2 separate regions of the Homo sapiens genome follow, and region 2 is linked to region 1. Evidence: promoter capture Hi-C in 16 types of primary human blood cells and fetal thymus (Javierre and others, 2016). All regions are on one chromosome and are shown on one strand. Each heading gives the region's core, a stretch centred on a gene start or on the middle of the fragment in contact. The rest is flanking DNA. Distances are from core to core; before and after follow the strand shown. Region 1 holds the start of NFASC (neurofascin). Region 2 overlaps MDM4 (MDM4 regulator of p53).

The links. The method cuts DNA at HindIII sites, captures the fragments that hold promoters and counts their contacts. A CHiCAGO score of 5 or more calls a contact.
Region 2: a fragment that was not itself captured here is called in contact with the fragment with the promoter of NFASC in region 1 in 1 of 17 cell types (endothelial precursors); the score reaches 5.2 in endothelial precursors.

Annotation. Positions count from the first base shown.
Region 1 is chr1:204,826,621-204,830,984 of GRCh38, forward strand. It overlaps NFASC (neurofascin), which reads left to right and starts at 2,032. Exons shown (of 30, transcript NM_001005388.3): 1 at 2,032-2,162. The HindIII fragment of the contact is 3,169 bases long and covers 1,236-4,364 here.
Region 2 is chr1:204,529,501-204,534,142 of GRCh38, forward strand. MDM4 (MDM4 regulator of p53) reads left to right here. Exons shown (of 11, transcript NM_002393.5): 4 at 1,184-1,317; 5 at 2,691-2,746. It also overlaps the pseudogene LOC100291628. Among named protein-coding and RNA genes, the nearest start is that of MDM4, 15 kb to the left of the region's middle. The HindIII fragment of the contact is 1,657 bases long and covers 1,762-3,418 here.

The DNA.
Region 1 (4,364 bases), core at 782-3,281:
GAGGTGGCATTGATGGGTCAAGGGTGTCATTAAAGTCTTGATGGTACTGCTGTATTGCTCTCCCAAAAAGGCCATACCAAGTTAAACCTCCACCAATGATGCACGAATCTGCCAGTTTCCCCACACTTCCTAGGGACCAGTGTGGAAGAGGATGGCTTCAAGTGCCCGAGACTCATACCTGGGGCTTTCTCTTGGTCTGAGCCCAGGATGAGGCAGGGCTTATGGAATTTCATTGGGAGGAATGAAACACTAGGGAATGTGAAAATCCTGTGACTTGCCATTCACCATGACAGAGGACACAGTGAGTGAGGTTTCAGGTCTGGGTTGAAAGTCCATGCTTGCTGAGGGTTCCAGCCAGAACTAGAGGTGCAAACCCAGGGAAGAAAAAGAAGCAGGAAGGCCAGATAAATGTCAGGAAAGAAAAAGAGCAACCACTTTCTGCCCTCGGTCCTGAGTGAGTCTGTTCCTGACACAGCAGCAGAACAGCCTGCAAGGTGCGTAGGCTCTTCTTAGTCCCCAGAGTCCATCACCAGCAGGGGGTGCCTCTCCCTCCATCAGGACTTGCCTGCAGCTCTGGGACACCACCGAGGCCAAGGAAACACCTTCACCCTCAGGGCCTCTGGGGGTCACCATGCTCCCTTTAGGCCCACACTTAATTTCTTTATACTAAGGCCATGAAACTTGAGTCCCAGTTCAGTTTCAACCACCAAACCACTGTGTGGGGTCCATCTCTCTAGACCTTCGTGTATTTGCTGTTTAAAAGTAATGAAGAAAGGGGAGGGAAGGCTGAACAATAATTAACATTTGTAAAGAACAGTTTGGTTCAGTACCTTATCTCATTGATGCTCACTCTATGCCCATTTTACAGATGGGAAAAAGAAGACTTAGAGAGGTTAAGTGAACTGCCCAAGTTTACCCTGCTGGTAAGCCAGGACTTTCTTGGCAAATCCTGTGATCCTTCAACTTGACCATATTAGAAGATTCTAGTATTGGTGAAATCTAAAACTTGTAGGGCCCATCTTAAAATAGCAAAGTAGTTTTAACTAGGCACTGTCAGATGCATCTGGGCTTTGAATTATTACTTGGGCAGGTTCCTTGAACTTTGGTGTTCTCATCCAGAATAAAAGACAGTGGTGCCAGGGTAGGAGCTATGAGCACAGAGAAAGTAGCCCTTGAATGGGGCCACAGAGGGATGCTGCAGGGGACTGTAGTTTTGGATGAGGAGCTGAACTAGAAGCTTCCAAGTGCTCTTCCAAGACAAAGATTCTATGATTCCCTAACTGGGATCTTTCCACTGTTTCAGGTGATAATTCTGAGCTCAGATCCTGTGCACAGAACCTAATGCAGTCTTCGTGTCAGAGCTAGAAGAGACCTTGGGCGACCACCCAATCAACTTTTCATGGTTCAGTTGTGGAAACTGATGTCCACAGATAAATGTCTTGCTATCATGTCAGATAGTTCTCCAGCCACGACTGAGGCCTGAGTCCCCCTAGGGCAGAGGAAATCTCCCATTTCTAAAAGAAAGCCCCGCACTGTTCATAGCAGTCACAACCTCTCTCACATCCCTGAATCAGGATCCAACGACTTGCCAATCAACAAATGTTGCTGGAGAGTTTACCACAAACAAGTCTCTGTGCTAGGCCCTGAGAACACAAGCTGTCCGGCAACTTCCTGCTCCCTAAAGTCACAGTCTATGGTGGAGGTGCAAACAAGCGATCCTGTTGGGGCTTCAGGGTACTTCCTCCTGTGTGCTTTGCACGTAGTAGGTGCTCAGCGAACGGAAACGGGGAGACTAGTTATCACTCTCCAGGCAAGCCCGCAAAGAGGCCTCAGGTGAAAAGAGAAAGGAGGATTTTTTTTTCCGGCCCTGGCTCTGCGCACCGCTCCCCAGCGCGCCAGGCGGGGCTGCGTCCGGAGCATCCTTCCCTCCGCCTCTGTCCTGGTCCCCGCTCAGCGGCCGCTAGGAGCGCGAAGGGAGGGGCGCGGGGGCGCGCACGCAGGGTGTCGGGGGCGCGCCGGCCGCCCGGGGACGCGCACGGGCTGGTCTCTGCCCTAATGCGGCGGCTGGCGGCGAGAGGCGCTGCAGGGGACGCGGGGGAAGTGGCGGCGCCGGCAGCGGACAGCTCGGACAGCGCCCAGGGCCGGAGCCCGAGCCCTTGGAGGTAGGCGAGCGCGAACACCGGAGAGATGGGGGTAGAGAGTCATGGAAACCCACCTAGCGACACCCCCTTGTTCCCGCCCTCGTCTGTCTCCATCCCCTGACCTGCCCCCTCCCCCTCCGTCCACATTCCCATCCCTTCCCCTCTCCACACTGTCACCTGCCCCGAATCCATCCGATTCTGTTCGTATGCCCACCCCGTCCCCGTCCAGCTCCCAGCCCCCTGCCCACCCCAACACCCTTTCTATCTCGTTGGCCGCGTCCCCTCCCCCTTCCCGCATCCTCAACCCTTTCCCTTTCCTCTCTGTCCCCGCCTCATCCGTGAGCCCTGCCTGCCCTTGTACTTCTGTTTACCTCGACACCCCACTTTGGATGACCCCATGCCTCCTGTATTTCCTACCGCACACATCAGCCCCTTCTTGCCTCCCCTATTCTCTTCCCCATCTCATGCCCCTACCAGTTGGTGTCCTGTCTCTCCATTTGCTCCCTCAGTTTCTGTCCTCCCCTGGTTCCCCCTTGCACGCCCTGTCCCAGCCCCTTCCCAGCTGCCTCTTGGTGTCCTCCTGCATCACAGTCCCTCTCAAGAACCCCGCCTTCTCCCCCCTTTGGCTGTTAGCTGGCCTGACACCCGTCACCTTCCCTAGCTGCCCTTCCTGGTGCTGTGTGGAGCCATACAGCCTGTACCCAGCCCTCCCTCAGTGGCCTCTGGACCCCCCTTCCCTGGGTGGGGATCTTGGTTGTGGAATATAACCCCTTTCTGCATGTTCGATCCTATTTGTGGCTTGGGGAAGAATGCTGGGGGTTAGTAGGCCTCTCTCTTATGTTCCTCTCCAGCCATGCAGCCACTCTACTCCTCTAGCTGTTCAGGTTTGTTTCCTAGATGGATTGGGGGAGGGGGTGCTAGGCATTGGGAAACTAGGATGGGGAAGGGGCAGGGTCCAGGGGAATGACTGAGCAGACTCCTCCTGGGGCTTGGCCTGAGCCCTGATGTAAAGGCCTGGATGAGGAGCCCTGCTGGAGGGCTGGATAATTTTGGATTTTAGAAAAGATTCTGCTTCAGCCTCCAAGTCAGCACTTTGGCATCTGGAGCTGTCATGAGTGTGGCCCATGGGCTGGGCCAAGAGTGGGCAGAGTGCTGAATCACCTAGAATCTGGTCCCCATGGCAGCCCCCATCCTGTCCTGAGCCAGGTTCTGCTCCTGACTCCTTCCTTGGCATTTTGGCATGGGGTGTGTGTGTGTGTGTGTGTGTGTGTGTGTGTGTGTGTGTTGAGCAGAGATGCCTCATCCCTCAGTGTGGGGGAGAGGACAACAATACCCCTTTTCTGCCTGCCTGTGTCCCTGGCATGAGGGCCTAGTGCGTCTCATCTACCCTTGGAAATGTGCTGGGCCCTGCTGGGCCTCAGTCAAATCTCCAGCAAGGCAAGGGCAAGCCACAGGGCTTTGAGACCTGGTTGGACAGGAGTTTAATTGTTTGTGTGGAGCCAAAGCCAGCCTCAGAGCCCACAGAACTTAAAGCAATAGGAGAATAGCCCAGGGAAAATGTGTGTGAAGAGTGGAAGCCTCTGGGGATAGGGGCCATACCAGCTGTGAGGTGGGGGCAGTGGAGGAAGGCAGGCAGAGATCTATCCTCCTTCTGGTTTGGGGATGATTGGATGTGGTGGAATTGCATTGCAGGAAGAATTGAAGGAGATGGGGGCCTGCTACGCAGCTAATACATTTCACCTTTTGTCTTGACTGAGCTGGCACTTCGGAGGGAGTAATTTCTCCCCTTGTCTTTGGATTCAACTGAAGGGGTGTGTTGTGTGTGTTGTGATGTGTGTGTGTGTTGTGATGTGTGTGTGTGTTGTGATGTGTGTGTGTGTTGTGTGATGTGTGTATAGAGAGAGAGAGAGAGAGAGAATTATGCCAGTAAGGAAAGAGACTCACTCCCACTTAGCCCCAGAAATTGTGGTTGCCACTGTGGAACAGGGAATGGCAGCCCGATTCCTGTCTTAGGGGCTTAGACGAAACCCAGAGGCTTAAATTGAGGCGTTAAGAGCGAATTGCAGACAGACTCTGTCCCTTCTCTGCAAGGCTTTCACTTTAGGAATCCAAGTGACTGGACTCCTTCAGCTCCTGTGCAGTAAACTCTGAATGGGCCTCAGGCAGTGCCTGGCAAGGGGATGTGCTGCTGGGGGCACTGGCTGCACCTTGCTTTGTCACCCT
Region 2 (4,642 bases), core at 1,340-3,839, 300 kb before region 1:
CATAGGGCCCTCTACCAGCTGGTGGTCCATAAGGCCCTCCAGGGGCAGGACCCCCATAGCCACCACCAGGGGGTAGCACGCTGCCATACTGCCCTCCACTACTGGGGGGGGTCCAAGGTAGTAGCTACCCGGAGGGGTTCCTGGCGCTTGCCCTGCATCTCCAGGGCAGCCCCGCCCATACAGATAGCTGGCTGTGGCAATTCTGACGTCACACACAGGCAAGGGGTAAAGTCTGGATTTTTATATCATTATAGTGGTTATGATGAATTATGCCATCTCCTTCATTTAGCATGGCAGAGTTTGCCTGAGTTTACACGATGAGCTTTCTGTTATGAACCTTGACTCTATCTATTGCATAAAGGGAATTTCCTGATTTTTATTATTTATTTATTTAGAGCCAGGGTCTTACTCTGTCACCCATGCTGGAATGCAGTGGTGGTATCTCAGCTCACTGCAACCTCCGCTTCCCAGGTTCAAGTGATCCTCCCGCCTCAGCCTTCCTAGTAGCTGGGACTACAAGCGTGCCTCACCACACCTGGCTAAGTTTTGTATGTTATGTAGAGACAGGTTTTGCCATGTTGCCCAGGCTGGTATCAAACTCCTGGGTTCAAGCAATTTGCCTGCCTTGGCCTCCCAAAGTGCTGGGATTACAGGTGTGAACCACTTCAGCCGACTAAATTTTTATTTGATAAACACTTGGATTTTATGTTTTGTCCACTTACAATGCTGATGGCTCTTATTAAACATTGTACTTCATTTGCCAAAAAGAATTATTATGTGAACACATATCAAAAGCCTAAAGTCGTTTATGTGCCCTGGACTGGGAAAATATTTTTATAATCCAGGCAAATTACTTCTAGTAATAGAATAGACTTCTTTATTTGGACGTCTGAGAAAATTTTTAAGAGGATACTAGGTAAATTCACTGCTTTTTCTCATTGTCAGATCAGTTCATTTCTGTGCTGAAAAGTCTGGGTCTGTTAATTGTCAGAAAGACAATGAGTAGATGGACCTAGTAGTTGGGAGCGGCTTTCCTGTTGTAGGACCCCTTACACAAACTTTGACAGTCTTGTAAATATGTTATTTCTTTCTTTAGCAAACTAACTTACCTTACCTCCTCTAATGAATTTGTGTTTTTGGTAGCAGCTGGACAGATCACAACATGGTATTTTATTCCATGCAGGTCATGCACTATTTAGGTCAGTACATAATGGTGAAGCAACTTTATGATCAGCAGGAGCAGCATATGGTATATTGTGGTGGAGATCTTTTGGGAGAACTACTGGGACGTCAGAGCTTCTCCGTGAAAGACCCAAGGTAAAAACAGTGAGGGCTTGCGTATCTTTTTGGGTGCTTATACCTAGCCACTTAATTTCTATGGGTTATTAATATTTATTACTTCACTCAACAAATATGTAAGAGCCTACATATGTTAGGTAGCCTATGAGGCACTGAGAATATGGTAATGAGCGACACACAGTCTGATTTTATGGAGTATACAGAGTAGTGAGTCAGTAGATGCTCTTGCCCATCTTAGTCAAATAATCACACTAATTCATGGTAAACCTACACTATGGCAAGTGCTACAGAAAAGAGATACATGAAGCAGGGAGTGGGTGGGATTTAGAGTGTTAGAGGTCAAGAAAATGTTCTTTTGAGGAAGTGAAATTTCAGCCAAAAGCTGAAAGATAGATAATTAAGTAGTCAATCAGAGAGTTTGAGGTTGATTGAACACCATGTGTAAAGGCCTGGGTAGGAGGAAGCTTGATGTGACTAGGTTAGAATTTTGTGAAATAATTGTTGGAGAGGGAGGAAGAGTGAGCAGATGAGAGAAATGTAGAATTGCTGGGCAGTTAGAGGTTGATGATGAGCCTGGTAAGAATCACAGTAGGGCTAACCTGACCTGTTACTTTTCTCCAGCTGCATGGGGTGTAAGTTATTAGCTTATATAGTCAAAAGCTAATTAGTAATTTAGAAGCTCTCTTTCTCTATAGCTTTGATGACTGCTGCTTCTGAGCTCATTCTGTCTTACACTAAGACTTCCCTTAGCTGGGTGTGGTGGCTCAAGCCTGTAATTCCAGCACTTTGGGAGGCTGAGGTGGGTGGATCACCTGACTTCAGGAGTTCAAGACCAGCCTGGCCAACATAAGTGAAACGCCGTCTCTACTAAAAATACAAAAAATTAGCTGGGCGTGGTGGCGGGCGCCTATAATCCTAGCTAGTAGGGAGGCTGAGGCAGGAGAATTGCCTGAGTCCGGGAGGCAGAGATTGCAGTGAGCTGAGATTGTGCCATGGCACTCCAGCCTGGGCAATAATAGCAAAACTCCGTCTCCAAAAAAAAAAGACTCCCCTCCACCCCCACTTTCCAATTACAATGTGAAACTTCAGTCCTGGAAGGAAGGAATAGTTTCCAAAAGAGATTTCCCCACTTGGATTACTGTTCGCTAATGAAATAAAATGTAAATTAATCAGTTTTTTAATGGGGGCAGAGTAACACAGGGGCCTGGGCATTAACATCTTAATATTTAAATAATTAAAAACTGTTCTGGGAAAAAGATTCTGCCTTTGTATGCCTTACAGAGAGACTTGGGAGATAACATCAGAAATACATTTAATATTTAACGGCAAACCACTGATATCTTCATAGTGGCATTTGGGGTTGTTAATTTTTTATCTTCTCTCTTTAACAGCCCTCTCTATGATATGCTAAGAAAGAATCTTGTCACTTTAGCCACTGCTACTACAGGTATGTCACATCATATTTCTTCAGTCTGTATCACAGCTTTGAGTTCAAGGGGGCAAATGATGGGAAAACAAAGAAGATGAAGGTGGAAATGGAATGCTATCTTTGGCATGACTGGGAGAAATACATACTACCTGTCACACAGAATGTTATGTTATTAACTTTTTACTGAAAAATCAAACATAGAGTAGAAGGATTTCCACTTTCTAGACGTACTGTTAACGTTTTGTCATATTGCTTCATCTAGACACACTTTTAAAAATCTCTAGCAGATAAGGACTTTTTTCTCCAAACATTCAATATCATTATTACACATAACAAATTTAACATGTAATTCCATAATCCTATTTCATAGCCAGTTTATGTATCATTTCCCCCAGTTATCTCAAAAATACCTTGTATTTTTGTCTTACTTGAATTAGGATCCAAAGTCCACACATTGCCTTTGGTTGATATGTCTCATAAGTGTCTTTAATCTATAAAACTTAACTTTCCTTTTGTTTTCATGTCATTTACGTGTTGAAGAAATGGGTCATTTGTTCTGTAGAATTTCCCACGCTCTAGAGTTGGCAGATTGTATCCTTGTGATTTTGTTTAATGTGTTTCTTTACCCTCTCTATTTTTGGTAAACTGGTAGTGCTTGAATAAATTCAAGTTTAAATTTTTTGCCAAGAAAGCTTTATAGGTAATGCTTTGTACTTCTGTTTAATCACATCAGAGTCATGTAAGGTCTGCCTGTCTATTTTAGTCAGTCATGTTAATAATCTGTGGGCTCAGGTGGTATCAGTCTGATCCATCTGTTACACAGGTCACTCAAGAACCTTTTACCTAATGGCTTTAGCCATCTCTTATCTGAATGCCAATTTGTCTAACCCTTTGCTTGATTCTAGACCTTCTAAATACTGCTCTTTAACTATTAGGTATGTATAGGAAACTGGCTGTACTGGAGTCTGGAGTCTCCAAAATGGTGGTCTGTAAGAGATAGGTAAATAAACTGGACAGACTGAACATAGCCATTTCCAAATAATGAAACTTTTTCCCTCTCCACTACTACATAAAGCCCTTTTGTGAGCTTCATATTAACATTGCCCTTTGAAGAAAGCCCAAGTTAGTAATCTTTTTAGATTGACCATCTTTTTTTCTTCTCAGGTTGCCCAGGCTGGAGTGCAGTGGCACTATCTCAGCTCACTGCAGCCTGGACCTCTCGGGCTCAGGTGATTCTCCCACCTCAGCCTCCCGAGTAGCTGGGATTATAGGCACATGCCACCATGCCTGGCTAATTTTTTGTATTTTTAGTAGAGACAGGGTTTTGCTGTGTTGCTCAGGCTGATCTTGAGCTCCTGGACTCAAGCAGTCCACCCACTTTGGCCTCCCAGAGTCCTGGGATTATGCGTGTGAACCACTGCACTTGGCCACTGCCACTGTCTTTTGATAGTTTACTGAACTGTCTTTTGCACTGTCTTTTGATAGTTTACTGAAATAAGTAGGTTGAGAAGAATCCATTCCTTTTTATCTTTTTCTTTCTTTCTTTTCTTTTTCTTTTTTTTTTTTTTTAAATGTAGAGCGTCTTGCTCTGTCACTCAGGCTGGAATGCAGTGGTGCAATCATAGTTCACTGCAGCCTTTACCTCCTGGGCTTAACTCATCTTCCTGTCTCAGCCTCCCAAATAGCTAGGACTATAGGTGCATGGCACTGCACTGCACCTGGCTAATTTTGTTTTTTTGTAGAAATGGGGTCTTGCTTTGTTGCTCAGGTTGGTCTTGAACTCCTGGCCTCAAGTGATTCTTCCACTTCAGCCTCCCGAGGTGTTGGGATTACAGGCATGAGCCACCGCCCCCAGACCTAAATCAATTACTAATAAAGATTTATTCTTTAAAGGCAGAGAAAGAGACATTGCTG